3 separate regions of the Homo sapiens genome follow, and regions 2 and 3 are each linked to region 1. Evidence: promoter capture Hi-C in 16 types of primary human blood cells and fetal thymus (Javierre and others, 2016). All regions are on one chromosome and are shown on one strand. Each heading gives the region's core, a stretch centred on a gene start or on the middle of the fragment in contact. The rest is flanking DNA. Distances are from core to core; before and after follow the strand shown. Region 1 holds the start of CSE1L (chromosome segregation 1 like). Region 2 overlaps ZMYND8 (zinc finger MYND-type containing 8). Region 3 overlaps NCOA3 (nuclear receptor coactivator 3).

Region 1 (3,529 bases), core at 741-3,240:
ATCCTGTCCCAGACCCCAACCAGCAGAAGTAATCAGAAGGGGAGAGAGACTTCCCTTGCACTGATGGTAAGAAGTGAAAGATAAAGGGTTGTAGGAGCGGAGAGACGAGGTCCATTAGGATCCTCTGAAAGCATGTCAAAAAAAAAAAAAAAAAAGAGAGAGACACACACAGAGAAAGGCCAAAGATATGACTATGTGGGCCCAAGGTGAGAAAAAGAGCAATTGGTGGAATCCAAGACTAAAGGGTCCCCTTCTGTGCCTCCAAGGAAGAATAATACTTGTGCATCTACCATGTGGCAAGCACAGGTGGGATGGCACCCACCAGGGAGAGAGAAGTAAGCAAGACAGACAAGGTCCTTGCTCTCAAACAGCTTACATTCTAGCAGTTGAGAAAGATAACAAGTAAGCAATAAGTAAGTGTTAGTAAATGCTATGAAGTAACTAAAACCAGGTGATGTTGATGGAGAGCCATGGGAGAAAGGTCCTAGACAGGTTGATTAGACAGCCTGATCAACATGGTGAAACCCCGTCTCTAATAAAAATACAAAAATTAGCCGGGTGTGGTGGCGTGTAGTCTCAGACCTGTAGTCTCAGCTATTCGGGAGGCTGAGGCAGGAGAATCGCTTGAATCCGGGAGGCGGAGGTTGCAGTGAGTCGAGATCGCGCCACTGCACTCCAGCCTGGGAGGCAGAGCGAGACTCTCTCTCTCAAAAAAAAAAAAAAAAAAAAAAAAAAAAGAAAAGAGAAAAGAAAAAGAAAAAGAAAACAAAAGAAGAGGTTGGTTAGGGGAGGCCTAAGGTGAGGGAAACTTGGGAGAGGCGGCCTGCCTTGCAAAAATGTTGGTACTTCCCCAGCAAACAAAAGGCATGTGCAAATAATTTTAAATCGGAATAACCCTGGAATATGGAAGAAACAGAAAGCCACACTGGCTAAGGAGAAAGATGGGTGGGAGAGATGAATAAACAACCGTCAGCTCCCAGGGAACCTTTGTAAACCACGGTAAATAACTCAGCGCATCCTCAAAGCCACTTTCCGAGGTAGATTCTGTTATTAACCCCATTTTGCAGCTAAGGAAATGGAGGCTCAGTGAGATGAGGTGACCAGCCTCAAGTTACACCCCTAACGAGAGGCTACGTCTGGAATGAACCCAGGCGATCTAATTCCAAAGTCTATGCTCCGAACCACCACAGCACAGCGTTTCTCCCAAAACGAGGGAACCCTCCCCCAACCCGCGTTACAGGGGATTTCTATGTCCCGGGTGTACCGACTAGAATTCTCACAAACAATTCAGCAAAGTGAGATCACGATGCCCGTTTTACAGTCAGGGATACAAGTACAGAGGTTAGAGAAGGGTGAGTTCGGGGGCTTCACTAGAGTTAGGGCAAGGGACGACGCGAGGCAGCCGCAGCTCCACGCGCCCGCAGTCCCCGCCCGGGCAGGCCTCGCCGCCGCACACTCAGCTCGCGCGGCTAGCAGCCACCGTCGCAGAGAATGGACATGCGAGCGCGACCAATAAGGAGCGGCCTTCCCGAGCGGAGAGGCGGCGGCGCAGCCAATCAGCGCCGTGATGGAGAGGAAAGGGCGGGCAATCCGCAGGCTCGCGTTAGGCCGCGCCTCAGTTGCCCTCAGCCCTCACAGGCCCTGGGGTCGCCGCACCTGGGCCAGAGACCTAGGATGCCGCGAGGCGCGGCAAGCGCTCCCTAGGGAAGCCGAAGACCTTGCCTGAGCGCACCACCCGAACCCCGGGCCCACATTCCGCTCTCGCCCAGAGGCGCGGTTCTCACTCCCTAGCGCTCGTTAGTACCGGGAGCGCCTCATCCCTTCCTCAGCTGGGCCCCAAGAGCCACTCTGGTAGGCCGTGCACGCCCCGCGCCTCACCTCGTGGGGATACAGAAACGGAGGAGGGAACCCCAGCCGCGGACCGTAGCTGGCACTACCCGCTCCTGCCGCCGCTCCGCCTCACATTCAAACCCCGGCAAAATGGCGCGACAGCGAGCCTGAGGCCAGAGCGCATGAGCGAGCGGCCCGCTGCAGGGGGCGGGGCCAGGAATGCTCTGGCCCCACCCAAGTTCGAAGGGCCAATCGGGGCCCCGCTCTGTTTCTGCGCTGATCTCACAAGTGACAATGCTCTTTGGCTCTGACCATGCCAGCAGGCTTCACGGTTCTCGTTTTCCAAAGAGGAACACAGATTCAGCGAGCGGCTGCTGGCTTCTGACCCATTTTGATGTCAGGGCTTGGCACGTAGGAGGTGTTCAATGTTGATCGATCCAAGGTCGTGCACATAGGGTCTAAGACGGAAGAGAACTTCCTGCCCCTCTTGGAGCTTCTATTTTAGAGGGAGACACGGCCAGACAGGTCTCGAACTCCTGGCCTCAAGTGATCCGCACACCTTGGCCTCCCAAAATGCTGGGATTCCAGGCGTGAGCCACCGCGCCTGGCCTGGTATGTAAGTTTTGGTACTCTTATTACAGCCCACAAACCATATGGGATCTGGCCCCTGCCAGCCTGCCTGCCCTCATCACCTTCCGCTTCCCTCCTCTCCTCACCCTCACTCAGCTCCGCCACCCCACCTTCTTCCTGTTCCTCTAAGCTCCAAGCTTATTTCCACTTTAGAGCATTTATACTTGCTGTTCCCTGTGCTGGGATGTTCTAGATTCCTGAATGATTGGCTCCTTCTTTACATTTAGGTTCCAGCTCAAATGTCACCTCCACAAAAGAGGCCTATCTGAAATTGCCCACTCACCACCACCCAGCACACAAATTAGGGTTGCCAGGTTTAGCAAATAAAATGCAGGCTGCCCAGGTCAATGTAAATTTTAGAAAAAAATTTATAATTTTCTAGTATAAATACTGTGTAGGACATATTTATACTTAAAAATCATGCATTGCTTATCTGAAATTCACATTGAACTGGGTGCCCAGTGTTTGATCTGGTAAGCCTAGTTCCATGATATCATTATGGTATTTATCACTCTCCAACTAATTGTCTCTTCTTTATTTTGTTCCTCCTTCCGCTTCTCCCCTCCTAAACCCCTGCCCTCCTCCCCATCCATAACCTAAGGGATTCTATACAGCAAGGGCTTTTCTTTTTTTTTTTTTTTTTTAAAGACAGAGTCTTGCTCTGTCGCCCAGGCTGGAGGGCTGGAGTGCAGTGGTGCTGTCACAGCTCACTGCAACCTCTGCCTCCCAGGTTCAAGCAATTTTCCTGACTCAGCCCCCCAAGTTACTGGGACTACAGGTGCCCGCCACCATGCCCCGCTGATTTTTGTATTTTTAGTAGACACGGGGTTTCACCATATTGGCCAGGCTGATCTTGAACTCCTGACCTTGTGATCCGCCAGCCTTGGCCTCCCAAAGTGCTGGGATTACAGGCATGAGCCACCACGCCTGGCCAGGGCTTTTTTTTTTTTTTTTTTTTTCTTTTAAGAGGCAGGGTCTTGCTCTGTCACCCAGGCTGCAGTGCAATGGCACAATCATAGCTCATTGCAACCTCGACCTCCTAGGCTAAAGCAATCCTCCCACCTCAGCC
Region 2 (3,529 bases), core at 321-2,820, 1.8 Mb after region 1:
GCCTAGAGGAGCCAGTGGCTTTCCTGTTCCAGCCAATGCCTGGCAGGCTGGTGACCCAGAGCGGCTAGATTTTCCGCTCTTTCATCAGAAGCCCCTGCTTTGATTTCTATATGAAATTTCCTGATTTGTGAGTTGGACAACACATTTATAAATTAAAAGCAGACAAGATACCCTGTGGGCCAAACCAGTGCCTCTCGCATGAAACATGTCTGCAAGCTAGATGTGGCTTGTGGGCTGTTTGCAACCTCTGCTTTAAGGCTTTGGCTTATTTTCTTTGGCCTAGACACAAAGGATCAAGAACTTTAACCCTTTGGAAACCCAAGGGAAGAGTGTTGGTGGGGAGCCAGGAACCCGGGGTTCTGGCCTGGCCTCTGTCTTGTGTCCTAGGGCAGGTGATATCCCTGGGCCTCTGTTTTCTAATCTGTAAATTGGATCAGTTTGAACAGCTTGTCCCTGCTGTTCCCTTCCAGCCCTCTTCATTCTCAATAATCCCAATTAGTTATCAACGTTGCAAAAATTTGGCACCACATGTTTAGTGCCATATAAATTTAAAATCTCCGTTGGTAGGTCCTGTGTCTCCTAACAACCAAAACCCTCTCCCAAGGCAAGTACCACTTGGCAGCCGTAGCCAGTTGCCACTTGAGATTATTACTGGCCCCATTTAGGCCAATGTGATGCGATTTGAAACGTGCTTTTCTTATTCCAGCATTTGGTGTGGAAAAATGTTTGCATTTTTCATCCTGCTCTTTATTTTGTGACTACGCCACATGCTGGGTTTTCTTTTTGAATTTAGGCATAAATGAAATCTCGGAAGATGTCTATACGGCCGTAGAGCACAGCGATTCGGAGGATTCTGAGAAGTCAGATAGTAGCGATAGTGAGTATATCAGTGATGATGAGCAGAAGTCTAAGAACGAGCCAGAAGACACAGAGGACAAAGAAGGTTGTCAGATGGACAAAGAGCCATCTGCTGTTAAAAAAAAGCCCAAGCCTACAAACCCAGTGGAGATTAAAGAGGAGCTGAAAAGCACGTCACCAGCCAGCGAGAAGGCAGACCCTGGAGCAGTCAAGGACAAGGCCAGCCCTGAGCCTGAGAAGGACTTTTCCGAAAAGGCAAAACCTTCACCTCACCCCATAAAGGATAAACTGAAGGGAAAAGATGAGACGGATTCCCCAACAGTCCATTTGGGCCTGGACTCTGATTCAGAGAGCGAACTTGTCATAGATTTAGGAGAAGACCATTCTGGGCGGGAGGGTCGAAAAAATAAGAAGGAACCCAAAGAACCATCTCCCAAACAGGATGGTAAGTGATTGTATCTGTTTCCAGTTTTCTTAATTTGGTTTAGAATCCTACCTCGTACACTTACTATCAAAAGTTATGTGACCCTTAAAGAAACAAATCAGAAGTTATGTGACCCTCTAACACACTGAGAGAGAGGCACAGTGAAGCTGTGTTTGGTTTAAGGTTGCCTAGCTAGTCATAGAACAGGACCTGGACTCAAACATGGGCCTGCCTACCTTTAACCTGCTCGGTATCCAGTATGATTGATTTTGAGTACAGAAAGAGAAGTCTGTTAGAAAATGATGGTTACTTTTAGTGACCAAGTCATTTTTAGTCTGAGCAGCTTCTTTTCCAATATGCTCATTTATTTCCCCAAAGTGTTTGTTAACATTTGGATCTTGTCAAATGGTCCTTCAGTGCTGCATTCCACAGACATCTCATTCTCTTTTGACAAGTCTCAAACGGTTAGGAGTGTTCATTTCAAGCTGGGCATGGTGGCTCACGCCTGTAATCCCAGCACTTGGGGAGGCCGAGGCGGGTGGATCATTTGAGGTCAGGAGTTCAAAACCAGCTTGACCTACATAGTGAAACCCTGTCTCTACTAAAATACAAAAATTAGCGGGGCGTGGTAGCAGGCGCCTGTAATCCCAGCTACTCGTGAGGCGGAGGCAGGATAATCGCTTGAACCCAGGAGGCGGAGGTTGCAGTGAGCTGAGATTGCGCCACTGCACTCCAGTGTGGGTGGCAGAGCAAGACTCCCTCTCTAAAAAAAAAGCAGTGTTCATTTCAAAGGTTTTGATGATTTCAGCTTTGCTTTCCTCCCCTCATGCCACCTAGGCATCTCCAAGTGTATTTTCTTACAGTAGTAGGACAGTATTTGGGTGATTGGTGCCAGAATACTGAGTGCTTCTTAGGGCACTAGAAAATGGAGTATGGTGGATATGTGTATTGGCTTTTTTGGGGAGGGGGGGCGGACAGAATTTGGCTCTTGTCGCCCAGGCTGGAGTACAATGGTACAATCTCGGCTGACTGCAACCTCCGCCTCCCGGGTTCAAGTGATTCTCCTCCCTCAGCCTCCCAAGTAACTGGGATTACAGGCACCTGCCACCACGCCTGGCTAATTTTTGTATTTTTAGTAGAAACAGGGTTTCACCATGTTGGCCAGGCTGGTCTCAAACTCCTGACCTCAGGTGAGCCACCCAGCTCGGCCTCCTAAAGTGCTGGGATTACAGGCATGAGCTACTGCGTCTGGCCTTACTGGCTTTTAATCTTATTTGCATTTAACTTAGCTCAGAGTTTCACAACCTTGCACTTCTGACAGTTTGCCCTGGCTAATTCTTAGTCCTGTGTATTGGAGGATGTTTTCCAGCATCCCTGGCCTCTACCAGCCAGATGGCAACCTTACTTGCTCAGTTGTGGCAGTCACAAATGTGGCAATCAAATATTGCCAAATATCCCCTGAGTCTCAGAGGCTACGGTTATATTCTGAACCAGCAGTGACTACCCCACAGCCTAGTGCAGCCTGGGCATGTTAACAAGCCCAACAAAAGGGGTGTGGGAATGATTGGAAGGATGTCCTTCCCACTGACAAAGTATTCAGCACATTTTTGAGTTGGCTTGGCAATTAGGTTAGAGGATTCAACATGCTCAATAAAGATACTGAAGAATTAACTAAGGGCCCAGAAGAAACATTGCCCCAGGACAAATTACAGGTTGTAGCCATAAAACCTTATGTATGTGGCGAGTGACTTAAGGGATAGCCAGGTTTAAATCTTGACTGTGCCTAACTTCTATCAGGAGCTAACTTGTCAATGAAACCCTTGAATAAGATGTAACTCCATGTCCTTTGGGGTTTCCATTGTCTGGTGGCTTAAAGCAAGTCAGGGATGGGCCTTGAGAATCTTTCTGCTGTGGTTATGGTCAACCTGGGCTGCTCTGGAACCTCAGCTGTCAGAGTGAGAGAGGATTCCTGCAGTTCAGCTAAAGAGAATGTCTGTGAGAGGTACAGTGGAGGAAGAGAGAGATACAGTTACATAAGGGAGGGAGGATAGGCCATCAAACCATCCCGACCCATCTGTTAGATTTATAGATGGCCTCTGAAAAATATGAGTATGTTATGGATTGGGTTTTGAGAGACTGTCTCTGTTGTTGCAGAGAACAATAGGAGTAGCATTTATTTCATGAGGATCGTAGGAATATTTGGGTGCAGATGGCAGTGCTCCTATGAGTGACATATTTATACTGTTC
Region 3 (3,529 bases), core at 327-2,826, 1.4 Mb after region 1:
ACATGTAACTGGCAATCCATTCTGTTTACTTTCAGCTGCACCCACCTCTGGATCAAAGAACTTCTAGGACATCAAGCCAATTATCTTCTGTAATACCCTACCCCTAATATAGATACCCCCAACTCACCTCAGATATTAAATACTGATAACTAAGTAGCACTGTTATTGATATTTACACCTTTCAATCCAGATGCAGTTTAGAAAAGTGGCATCATAATATGAACATTAACAATGTAACTTCCGTTTATTTTTTAAAGGAAGAAACATGTATCTCCTTTATATCATTCTGATCTTTATAAAATATATATATTTTATTTATATATCTTTGGATTCAGCAAAAAAAAAAAAAAAAAGTAGGTACTGGAAATATCCCACATTCTAAAAGCAGATGAAAAGATTATACTGTTCACCCAACAGATACCAAGGTTTGAAAAAATGGGGGGTGCTGGGGTGTGAGGAGAGGTAGACAGCAGGAGTACAAAGAATTACCTAAAAAAGATAAAGGGCAATACAGGTAAAAACAAATTATCTCAAAGACTGCACCTATTAAAAGAAATCTTGAGTTTGCACCAAATGAACAAGTAGAAAATATAAAAACTTATAATAAACTTCATTTTTCTACTATATAAAAAAGGGAGTGCTGCCTTCCAGTTAGCCTGGAGCCAGGTCTGAGGAAAGGATTGCAAAAAAATTTATTTTTTTTTTGTTTTTAATAATTTTTTTAAAGTCAAGAAAGATAAGAGCACCATTCTATTTCTCCCCACACACATAACTTAAAGAAGGGTCAGATACAATTGAGCTGAAAAAGAGACAGACTGACCTGGTTCTTCCTCTGTCTCCAAACAGGAGAGTATACTATCTGAAAAGCACAGGCCACTACAATGGAAGTTTTCGGATTTACAATCTTTCTTAGATATATTTTGAACTTGGTAGGGGAAAGAGGGCAAACTCATAATTGTCTATACTGCTTTGAAAATAAGATCCACTCTGGTGGTGGGTCTGGAAATAATCAGGATTCACTTACTCGTAAGCATATCAAAGATATTAAATGATCTTACCTTCAGAGACATCTAGAAAGATTGGCTAAATGTGTGAAATTCTTAAAATTAACTGGCTCTCAGTTATTGCTAGAAAATGATACCAAGGCTAGCAGAGACCTCTGAAATTCACAGACATTCAGAAACCCAATTCCGTCAACTATTTGAACCAAATGAATTAACCCAGATAAAGGGAATTAAACTTGATTTTTCCCTTCCTCCCAACTGACTAAAACAGGTGTCAAAGAGAGGCAACAGCAGAAAAGTGGTAGGGGGCAGAAGAGGGAGGGGTTTAAAAGGTGCTCAGTTAGACTGTGGCTCTGAATCACAGTAAAACTGGCTGTTCTGGGTACTGAGTTACTTAAGAAATAACTGACACTATTCTAATCCACAGGGACATAATGAAAGCATCACATTAGTAGAATGAGGGGACAGCTGAGCAGACACCAGAAACCACACCAAGGATTCTACTCGAGATCTCAATATGGGATTCAGGTCTTAGCAACCAAAATCTGAAAACGCTCCTAAAGGGGATGAAAAGGTAACATAATTAAACATACACACACACACACACACATACACACACACACACAGCCCATGAATTGCTATTATTTCGGACTGCTTAAAATCCAAAAGATTCTCTTCAAATTGCTCGTTTTTTTAAATTCCTGATTTTTTTTTAAGTTTATTTCCCCATATCTATTCTTTCCCCCCAAATTAACAAAGTGCTTAGTTCTGGTAGAGGAATTTTTAAAAAATTAAAATGCCTACATCTAAACAAATAATCTCTTTAAAAAGCATTTAGATTAAGAGATTGAAAAGAGCGAGGCATCTAAGGCTGGGGGGTGGGGAAGGAAAAGCTGTGGAGCACTACCCCTCCCCCAGGCCACAAAAGTCAAGGGATGTCTCTTCCACTGGTAGCCTCACCACACAGCTTACTGAAATCAACAATGTTAAATATTTAGCTTCACAAACTCTGTAAAAATGAGTTGTTGTGACCTACAAAAAAAGGTATATACATATTTTACATAATACAATATCTTAAAGGTCATATTTACAAAAAAATCTATTCACAGAAACACTGCGAGATTCTGATTCAGAATGCAGTACCTGGCCTTGGGTTTTCAGAAGTTTATTTTTAAAAAGCATTATTGCTCTACCATATAGGCAAAGGGTGACACCAGTACTTTAAAAAAAAAAATCATAGTTCTTGTCTAACACGTAAGTGTAGGCAAAAACCAGGAATGTGTTTCACTATTCCCTCAAGACCTCAAGAATATTGCATTTATCCATTCTTTTTAAATAAAGTGCACTCAGCTGCACATTAGCATGTGAAAAGTTTGCTACTGCTGCGATTAAATACTGTCATCTCATTTCCTTTCTGCAAAGCCATTTGGACATCCATGACAGTTCCTGGAGGTGAAGTATTACAGGACATGAATGGCAAATGAAAACCTTCATTAGGAGAAAGCCTAGGGCAAATAATAGGGACAGAGCAACTCAACACCATTAGTAAAGGACAATTCAGAATCACCAATTCCACTGGACAAAGGGTCAACACAGAACTACTACACCTGAAGGCTGGGACTATGCTCTTTGTCCAATACTGCAACTAGAGAAACCAGATATTCTAATCTCTCTTGATTCTTCCAATGTTCTCTGGCCCACCTACGTGTATTTAAGAGATTTTGGCTAGCAAGGCAGAAAAAAGTGACACAAAAGTTTTATGATCAGTAACACTCCATGTCTCCAGAATTATATCCCTAGGAGGTGGAATGCCAAAAAACATTTCTGTTTTGAACACCATGATACACAGCAGAAGGAGGGGGGAAAAACACGTAGATATTGCCCTTCGGCTTAAAATCCAGTCCTGCTCAAATGACATCACTTAAAATACCCTTGATGGAGCTCAAAGCTGGTCCTTTCTTCCAAGATGGATGCCTGGAACAATGATTCCTTCCCAATAATCCTAGTGCAGTGTCATTTGTACAGTGGTTTCCTTAAGAGGTCCTGGTGCAGAGATGTCAGCAGTATTTCTGTCAGCAACCAGGAAAAAAAAAAAAAAAAAAAAAATGAGTAAAACACATGCTTTGCACAACAAAAAAATACCCATGTCCACATTCATGGCTTACAGTGCAGCTCTGGCTGAGTGATTCAGGTTCCTGAGATCCCATCTTACAATGCAGCTCTGGCTTACCAAAAGTATCTAATGGCCCAATGCCTTCAAACCAAGTTTTTTCAATTACTATATTTTAAGTTATACATTCAAGTTAAAATATACCTAGGACATTCTGATTATAGCCTAGGCTTTAGTTCTATCCAGAGAACAAGAAAAACTTTTTGAAAAAGGTAAGGAATCGATCCCATACCTGATCAGGACCCATAGGCATGCCAGACATGGGCATGGGGTTCATGTTCATCTGTCCCATGTGACCACTGCTGCCATTCATGTGCACCATACTATACACTGCAGGATTCCCCTGGTGGGCAAA

The links. The method cuts DNA at HindIII sites, captures the fragments that hold promoters and counts their contacts. A CHiCAGO score of 5 or more calls a contact.
Region 2: a fragment that was not itself captured here is called in contact with the fragment with the promoter of CSE1L in region 1 in 1 of 17 cell types (naive B cells); the score reaches 5.8 in naive B cells.
Region 3: a fragment that was not itself captured here is called in contact with the fragment with the promoter of CSE1L in region 1 in 1 of 17 cell types (naive B cells); the score reaches 8.1 in naive B cells.

Annotation. Positions count from the first base shown.
Region 1 is chr20:49,044,773-49,048,301 of GRCh38, reverse strand. It overlaps CSE1L (chromosome segregation 1 like), which reads right to left and starts at 1,990. Exons shown (of 25, transcript NM_001316.4): 1 at 1,879-1,990. It overlaps CSE1L-DT (CSE1L divergent transcript), which reads left to right and starts at 2,246. Exons shown (of 2, transcript NR_110625.1): 1 at 2,246-2,442. RefSeq lists enhancers at 992-1,632, 1,598-1,667, 2,218-2,367. The HindIII fragment of the contact is 3,278 bases long and covers 1-2,599 here.
Region 2 is chr20:47,243,782-47,247,310 of GRCh38, reverse strand. ZMYND8 (zinc finger MYND-type containing 8) reads left to right here. Exons shown (of 23, transcript NM_001281775.3): 14 at 794-1,303. Among named protein-coding and RNA genes, the nearest start is that of MIR3616, 79 kb to the right of the region's middle. The HindIII fragment of the contact is 4,630 bases long and covers 1-3,529 here.
Region 3 is chr20:47,652,950-47,656,478 of GRCh38, reverse strand. NCOA3 (nuclear receptor coactivator 3) reads right to left here. Exons shown (of 23, transcript NM_181659.3): 22 at 3,407-3,529; 23 at 1-3,073. The coding sequence ends at 3,062. Among named protein-coding and RNA genes, the nearest start is that of SULF2, 130 kb to the left of the region's middle. The HindIII fragment of the contact is 7,144 bases long and covers 1-3,529 here.